2 separate regions of the Homo sapiens genome follow, and region 2 is linked to region 1. Evidence: promoter capture Hi-C in human tissues and cell types (Jung and others, 2019). All regions are on one chromosome and are shown on one strand. The core of a region is centred on a gene start or on the middle of the fragment in contact, and the rest is flanking DNA. Distances in the headings are between cores, read along the strand shown.

Evidence for each region. The method cuts DNA at HindIII sites, captures the fragments that hold promoters and counts their contacts. A contact is called where the count stands out against the background at its distance.
Region 2: a fragment that was not itself captured here is called in contact with the fragment with the promoter of MLF1 in region 1 in 1 of the 25 tissues and cell types used here (psoas muscle).

What each region holds. Positions count from the first base shown.
Region 1 is chr3:158,569,376-158,573,585 of GRCh38, forward strand. MLF1 (myeloid leukemia factor 1) reads left to right here and starts at 1,819. Exons shown (of 8, transcript NM_001369783.1): 1 at 1,819-1,972. The coding sequence starts at 1,926. MLF1-DT (MLF1 divergent transcript) reads right to left here and starts at 1,691. Exons shown (of 5, transcript NR_104147.1): 1 at 796-1,691. The HindIII fragment of the contact is 8,231 bases long and covers 1-4,210 here.
Region 2 is chr3:158,625,591-158,630,053 of GRCh38, forward strand. It overlaps the pseudogene RFKP6. Among named protein-coding and RNA genes, the nearest start is that of GFM1, 17 kb to the right of the region's middle. RefSeq lists enhancers at 852-1,353, 1,354-1,853. The HindIII fragment of the contact is 7,108 bases long and covers 1-4,463 here.

The DNA.
Region 1 (4,210 bases), core at 569-3,068:
CAAGGTCTCTTCAGTGCCAACTCTGCTCTGCCCTCCTTTTTTTTTTTTTTTGCATTTGTCATTAGATCCAAACTGCTTTCACAAGGTTCAGCTAATTCCCTGACTAACCTGTGCCTGGACTAAAGCTTTTATAACAATGTGATTCTAAAAAAGTTCCCACAGAAACTAGAGGGTAACATTACAAATTTACTTGGCCTTAATCCAGAACTATTTTAACACCATCTTTTATCACATAACTTACTCCATTTCAAGTTTTTTTTTAAGTGTGGCCTCCTTCACATCTTGTGCTTATACTATTTTAAAGAGAAAAACAATTTAAGGTCTTATAAAACAATTTTGTTTGCCTTGAAATTTATTTAGAAATTTTCGAAATTTTGTGTATATGTTCTCTGAGCTTTATTCTGAGTCCAGAGGAAAAGAAAATATCCTCTTTCCTGGATGGGCTGTGCCATCTCATCTTGGGCTGTGAAGTCTGCCCTACCCCATGCCACCAGTCTCAGGGGAAGGAAGCTGCCAGAGAACTTGGCTAAAAAAGGGGGATGGGGAGTAAAAGATCCAAACGATTAAATTTCCAGCTCTCAAAATAACCCCTGACTACTCCTGTCACCTCCAAATCAGGGCTTGCACACTTCTTCATGCTGGCAAAGTGCCACCCCTCTGGCCTGATCCCAGGGGGCCCTGATGAGCTATGGACGCCCCTTTATCTCTGCAAGACAGCCACGTAGAGAAGCTGGGGAGCTCACTGAATTAAGGGTGGACATGCAAGATGTATTTTCTCTTTTCTTATACTCTTACCATTCTTCTCCTTAATCTCTCTTCTGTCTTCCCCTCCATCTGTCTCCAGGCTCCTGAAAGGCCCCGTGATAGTGTTTTCTAAAACTTAGTAATTTGAGTACCACTATCACGATGTTCCTCTCCCCTGCTCTGCCTACCCCTCCGCCCCACCATATCCAAATTCCACCTGTTCTATTTGATAGCTTACTTTTTCACTTAAAAATGCAAAATCTAGCTCTTGATGTATATCACTGATTTAAATTTAAAATCAGTTTCCTTGCCATAAATAGAAAGCTCCCTGATAAATGTAATGCAAATAAAAACATATAGTAGTGGAATTTTAGTTGGATATGGCTGCTTGCTGCAGGCCTGTGCCTGAAACCTGCTGTTAGGTTAAGAAATGCTGGAGAAGTGTTAAAAACATATCAGCATCGCAGTGAGACTTGATCTTTGAAAGAGAGACACAGAAGGACAACCGAAAAGAGAGCAGCTTTCTCAAGAGGTAAATAAGTTTGTTGAAATCTGATAGGCTTCATCCCATTTCCTTCAACAACTGAGTACACTATTTGCTAACTGTACTAAAAAACGTTTTGCACATTTTTTCTTATTATTTGCTCACAGCTTTTGACTACCAGAGAATGTTTCGGATACAGGACTAATTCCTGTGGATGACAGAATGCGACCGTTGAATGGGACATTGGGTGTCATCTGGTCCAAATCTTGACCCCTTTTCATTTTCCCCGAAAGAAAGACTTGCGGCTCGGAACCGAGGGCGGCATGCCCAAGGTCACAGAAAGGGTGGTCTAATGTTTTGGTTCCTGCAGCCCAGAGAACAAGCTATCCCATCCCACAGGAGCCTTGGCGAAAAGCTCCCCGGCCGGCGCAAGGCCAGACTTCTCGCCTCCACTGTGTTGATTGCGGTTGCCAGGGCAGCGGCGCATTGCTCCCCGCCTCGTCCTGGTGACGTCACAGAGCAATGTCCAATGGGAAAGCAGCTCGGTGTCACGCACCTCCTATCCCGGCGGGCACCGCCTGCGCCGCGGCGAGTGAGGCGTCGTCCGTACTGGAGGCTAGCTCTTGTCGCGGCCGCGGCGAGTTAACATCGTTTTTCCAATCTGTCCGCGGCTGCCGCCACCCAAGACAGAGCCAGAATGTTCAGGATGCTGAACAGCAGTTTTGAGGATGACCCCTTCTTCTCGTGAGTTACGGGAGCCAGGAGTCCGGGGTCGCGCGGGAATTAAGGTATCGAGGGGAGCTATTTTAAGGGAAAAGAGCGAGTTTTAGAGGGCGAGAGAGAATTCGGAGTAACTCTGGAGGCGGTTTGAAGGAGACGAGGATTTGGAGGCCTGGGAGGGAAGAGAGAGGAGGATTTAGGGGTGTGTGAGACAGGGAAGAGACGGATTTGGGCGCATGAGGTGGAGAGAGGAGGGTTTGGACGCGTGAGGTAGGCGGAGGGAAGTTTGGGGGCGTGAGGTGTGGGGAGGAGAGTTAAGGCTGGGAGTGGGGGGAGAAGAGTTGAGGCCGGGAGGTGGGGGGAGGAGAATTGAGGGCATGAGGTGGGGAGAAGAGGTTGAGGGCGTGAGGTGAGGGAAGGGTTTGGGAGCATGAGGTGGGAGGGAGGAGGGTTGAGGGCGTGAGGTGAGGGGAAGGGTTGAGGGTGTGAGGTGAGGGGAAGGGTTGAGGGCGTGAGGTGAGGGGAAGGGTTGAGGGCGTGAGGTGAGGGGAAGGGTTGAGGGCGTGAGGTGGGGGAAGGGTTTGAAAGCGTGAGGTGGGGGGAGGAGGGTTGAGGCTGTGAGGTGGGGGGAGGGTTTGGGAGCGTGGGGTGGGAGGAGGAGGGTTTGGGGGAGTAAGGTGGAGGGGGGAGGGTTGAGGGTGTGAGATGGACGAAGGAGGATTTGGGGGTGTGAGGCGTTTGGAGGAGGGTTGAGGGCGTGAGGTGGGGGGAGGGTTTGGGAGCATGAGGTGTGGGGGAGAGTTGAAGGTGTGAGGTGTAGGAGGAGGGTTGAGGACGTGAGGTGGGAGGAGGATTTGGGAGCATGAGGTGTGGGGGAGGGTTGAGGGTGTGAGGTGAGGGGAAGGAGGGTTTTGGACCGCGAGGTGGGGGGAGGAGGGTTGAGGGCGTGAGGTGGGGGGACGGTTTGGGAGCATGAGGTGCAGGGGAGAGTTAAGAGCTTGAAGTGCAGGGACGAGGGTTGAGGGCGTGAGTTGGTGGGGAGGGTTTGGGAGTATGAAGTGCAGGGGAGGATTGAGGGCATGAGTTGGTGGGGATGGTTTGGGAGCGTGAGGTGGCGGTAAGAGGGTTGAGGGTGTGAGGTGGATGGAGGAGGATTTAGGGGCTGAGGAGGATTTGGGGGCATGAGGTGTGGGAGGAGGGTTGGGGAGAAGGGTTGAGGGCGTGAGTTGGTGGGAAGGGCTTGAGAGCATGATGTGGGAGGAGGGTTGAGGGCGTGAGGTAGGGGGAAGAGGTTTGAGGGTGAGAGGTAGTGGGACGAGGGAGGGTTGGGGCGTGAGGTGGAGGGAGGAGGGTTTGGGGGCATGAGGTGTGGGGAAGAGGGTTTAGGGGCATGAGGTGTGGGGGTAGGAGGGTTGAGGGTGTGAGGTGGACAGAGGAGAGTTGATGGCGTGCAGTGGGGGGAGGAGGGTTTGGGGGCGTGAGGTCGCAGGAGGATGGTTGAGGACGTGAGGTAGAGAGTTGAGGGCCCCAGGTAGGGGGAGGAGGATTTGGCTGCATGAGATGGAAAGAAGGCCCTTCCTCACACTCCCGGGGTGCCTGCTGCTTTCCATTTGGCCGGACTTTGGGTGCCCGTCATGGCTTCCTGTGTGCAGAGTTGGCCTTTGCAGCTTCAAGGGCTTTGCAGGTGACATAACTACCATCTCGGTGAAACTTATGGTGAGAATTATGTTCACATAATTGCAAATGGGAGCAGGGAATATTTTATAGCTCCTCTTTAAATTCCAAATAGGAACAGGTAATATTTTATAGCATGACAGTTCATTGAAAAGGGGAAGTTTTTAAAACAGCATTTTCCATGTGAGTGGGGAATGTGTCAATGAGAGCACGACAAAGTTGGAGAGTTGTGCTTTCTCTTCGAAGTTGTTGGAAGTTGCCATGCCAATTGCGCTGTTTTCTTTGCTCGCTTTGTTACAGAGCTAACCTTGTTTGTGAAGGGACTCCGCTTTCTGTCAAAACTAGAAATAGGACAGGGAAGCTGATGGGGCGGGGCGGGGGGAGGGGGGCGGGAGGAGGGCGGCGGGGGGGGGGGGGTGTGTATTTAACACCTCAGGTAAGCAAGTGCCATTCGTTGCCTTTGAAGGTTCCCAGTGAAGTAATGTGATGCCCTAGAAAGAAGGCATCCAGAAATTGGTTTCACTATTATTTATTTTTGAGTTGTGGGATTTTTTTTCCTTAATTCTAACTTTGGCCATTGTTACAAAC
Region 2 (4,463 bases), core at 1,589-4,088, 57 kb after region 1:
GAAAATTGTGAGTTCTGAAGGAAGAGAAAGTGGAAGATAAAGCAAGTATTCAGGAATGTTGGATTGCTTTGAGAGGCAGTTTGGATTCTTACTAGGGTAATAGGAAGTCAGAAGACATTTGATTTTTGGCAACAAAGTCTCTAGACTTGTTTGGCTAAGGGTGTAAATTCCTATACAGGTATAAACTTTGACCGTGCTATACATGGCTTGGGGTCTTTAATGGATCCTCTGATGTAGGTGGGATAGGACTGCCTTTATAAAAGGTTTGAATAACATTTCTCTGAGTTCCCTTTAGCACCTACAGGAGAAATGGCAGCTGGTCCAGCTTATCTGATTTGCTAGGTTATTTTCTTGACTCTTGAAAGACAGGCTTTTTGGTGCCTGGGGACATGGACAATAGCTATTTTTTCTTTTCTGGTAACTGAAGGCTATTCAACACTTGGGTGATTAACTCCTCATGAACAAGGCTTTGACTTTTACTATTCATTCAGTCTGAATTTTTCTAAATTTATGAGCCACTGTAAAGGCGTATTTAGAATTAGTATAGATGGTTCTCTCCTGATCTTGCAGATACTTTAAAGCTTGACTAAGTGCAGACAGCTTATAAATTTGGATAGACTACTTATTAAAACACTTTGATTTTATCTCTCTAGGAACTTTTATTAATAACTGAACACTTGTTGTGTTCTTTTTCCCTTAATCACTTTTGAGGGGGGTTTCTTTTAAGTTCTACTGGATGTTTGTATGGTAATCAGTTAAATCTAAACATGTGTGCTTTTAGATTTGGCTCTCTCGTTAAGAAACTTGCTAGGTTAAGCGAATTATCAGTAGTTAATGTTAAACCATCCTTTTTAACAGAATAGCCTCATACTTATACACATATAATTCTTTTCTGGTGGCACATTTTAATATAAAACATAAATATTAATATATAATATATATAAAATAAAACAATATATAATATAAATACATAATATACAACTTAATATAAAACTTAATATATATAATATATAAAATATAAAACTTAATATATAATAGAAAACTTTAAAGGATCAAAGTTCTTTTCTGGTGGATATTTTCACTTTTAACACTGACTTGACCACAATAAATGCTAGTGGATATATCAGCTGAAAGATTATCTACTCAGGAGACTTAGCTGCAGAGATGCCTAGCTGCTTGGAGCCATGGCTGAGGCCTGGTATTACTTGGCCCTGGCAAAAGTAAGGCAGATGTCCCATAATGTAGTCTGCTCAGGGCATAGGCTGGGACCTGGACTGTGTGTCTTGCAGAGCTGCCGTCAATGTGGTGCCGGGACCTTGGACCAGCCAGGGGGCAGGAGCATGGGCTTTGCCTGCCGCTGGGGCGTACTATGGGCTGGATGATGCCGACAACATGTTGCAGCTGATCCTTGATGTTGCTAGCCCGGCAAAAGCCACCGGCGAATTACGAGCTTGGAGTTCTTTTGGGGAGGGGGACTTAGGCTGGGCCTGAGGGAAGGGTTGGGTGTATTAGGTGGGGGACCAGGGGTATTAGGTGGAGGATGGCCTAGGGGATCCCGTGTGCTGTTCTCGTTTGCCAGGATTCCCTGAGCCCCTTCCCTCACTGGTTCTACAGTAGGGGCAGGGGCATAAGGGAAAAGGGAGGACAGGTCTTTGCTTCCAACAAAGAGCATAGACCAGTTTTTCTTGAGAAACTGGGCTTTTATTATTTACATGTTGAATTAAAAGTTGACATAGTATATCCTCAGTCGACCCAAACTTTGGCCAGAAGATTGAGGGATTGAGGTTAGGTCTTTGAGTCCAAATAGAACAGCAATATTTTATCATTTGTTGCTTTTATTTATGTTTAGTTCTTTCATTATCTTCCCAGCCTTTTAGCATGAGACCTAGAGGGTTATCAGGTGGTATATCTTTGAGACCTAAGGGACTATCAAGGGGATATCTTTGTTGCTAACTTCATCTTTTTTGCTTGTAATATTTCCCATACTGGGTCCTGGCTAGGCTCAATCCCTCTTATTAGGAATCTCTTGCCAATTTGGGGAGTTCCTTGTGGCTCAACCCCTCATATTAGCGATCTCTTGCCTATCCTTCAGTGGAAGCTTTGCTAAGGCTTAATTCGCTTATCTCCATCTGCTGGAGGTCCCTTGAACCCTTCTTTTGCTTCGTCTGCTCTGGCCACTTCCCTCTCGGGAATGTTTCAGGTCCCTCTTACCATTGATGGCGGGTCAGTATAAATCCCTGATGGGACCCCCAAAGGGCCGCCCTAAGCCATATGTGGTGACCACGGAATCGTAGATTGGACTCACTCATTCCTCACAGCAGTAGTGCTTGTTACCATTCATGCACTTTCAACCTCCAGAATGCCCCGACCACCCCCTCTGACCACCAAAGAAGTACTTTGTCGCCCCTGTGACGTTTCGTACCTTGGTCTGTGCACAGAGTTTACCTGGTCGCCACGGTATTGCAAGCCTCTCCTCCCCACGTTGCTGAGAGTGTGGGTTTATTCGTCACCAAGGGTGGGTCTCAATCTCACCTCCCTGAGGCCACCGCAGTGGGGCAGTGGGACACGTCTTGCCTGAGTAAGGAAGTTAACAGGCTAAACACTTTGAAGAGAACTCAGAAAGATTTATTGTATCTTACAGATCAGGGTACCTCTGCTCAGATTCCCTTCATGGATACCAAAATGTGAACCCCGAATATCTGAGACAGGTCTCAGTTAATTTACAAGGTTTGTTTTGCCAAGGTTGAGGACATATGCCTGTGACACAGCCTCAGGAGGTCCTAACAACATGTGCCCAAGGTGCTCAGAGCACGGCTTGGTTTTATACGCTCGGAGACATAAGACATCAGTCAACATACGCAAGATGAACATTGGTTCTGTCTGGAAAGGTGGGACAACTCAAAGCAAAAGCAGGACAGCTCAAAGCAGGGAGGGGGCTTCTAGGTCATAGGTTGATAAGAGACAAATGGTTGTATTCTTTTGAGTTTTCGATTAGCCTCTCCAAATGAGGCAATCAGATATGCACTTATCTCAGTGAGCAGAGGGATGACTTTGAGTAGAAGGGGAGGTAGGCTTTGCCCTAAGTAGTTCCTAACTTGACTCTTCCCATTAGCTAAGTGATTTTGGGTCCTCAAGATTTGTTTTCCTTTCACAAAAATGTGTACTCATAAAAATTTAGCTAGACATTTCATAGATTTCTGTGTTCTATTTTTCTCTTTGCAGAAAGCAAAAGTGGACTACTTTGATTAAAAGTGGTGATTAATAACAATAAAAATATACTTGGTACAATAATCATGGAAAAAATGAATATATATACACATAATAATGAATATAAATCTTTACTAAGGAAACAGTTCATTAAAGTGGTAATTTCAATATAGTAGATATACAATCTTATTTAATATAAGATTAGTTATCTGCATACTAAATAAAATATAAAATTAAAAATTAAAAACCTTTATTGTGTATTTACATAATCATGTATTTTAAAATAATACTTATAAAGGTATATAAAGACTAAATTTTTAGAAGTCTAAATAAAAAAGTTTATTTAAAGTATTTGATATGGTTTGGCTGTGTCCCCACCCAAATCTCTTCTTGAATTGTAGCTCCCTTAATTCCCATGTGTTGTGGGAAGGACCTAGTGGGAGGTAATTGAATCATGGGGGTGGGTCTTTCCCATGGTGTTCTCATGATAGTCAATAAGTCTCACCAGATCTGATGATTTTATAAAGAGGAGTTCCCCTGCACAAACTATCTTTTTGCTAGCTGCCATGTAAGACGTCCCTTTGCTCTTCCTTCATCTTCCACCATGATTGTGAGGCTTCCCCAGCCATGTGGAACTGTGAGTCAATTAAAATTCTTTCCTTTCTAAACTACCCAGTCTCGAGTATGTCTTTATTAGCAGCATGAAAACAAACTAATACCGTATTTTTAATGTTAATGGATTCATTCATTAAAGTGACTTAGAAATCCTTTATTGCATATTACTACATGGGATGATATACAAAAAGTAACTTTGAAATTCATCATTGAGCCTCTCATTTTCCTTTTCTTGTCCCTTGTACTTTTTTCAATTTACTTGATCTCATTCATTCATTCATTTAACAAATATTTATTAAACACCTCAAACATGTACGGAGACACAGTAATGAGCAAACAAAACTGTTGTCCTTATGAAACTTATATTCTCACATGGAGAGTCAGACAATACAAAGATATGTATGCAAAATGTCTGAATTTAAGAAGTGCTCTGAAGAAAAATGAATCACAGTGAGAAGATAGAAAGGGAGGGAGGGAGGCCAGGTGTGGTGGCTCACTCCTGTAATCCCAGCACTTTGGAAGGCCAAGGCAGGTGCATCATGAGGTCAGGAGTTCAAGACCAGCCTGGCCAACATGGTGAAACCCTGTCTATACTAAAAATACAAAAATTAGCTGGGAGTGGTGGCAGGCACCTGTAATCC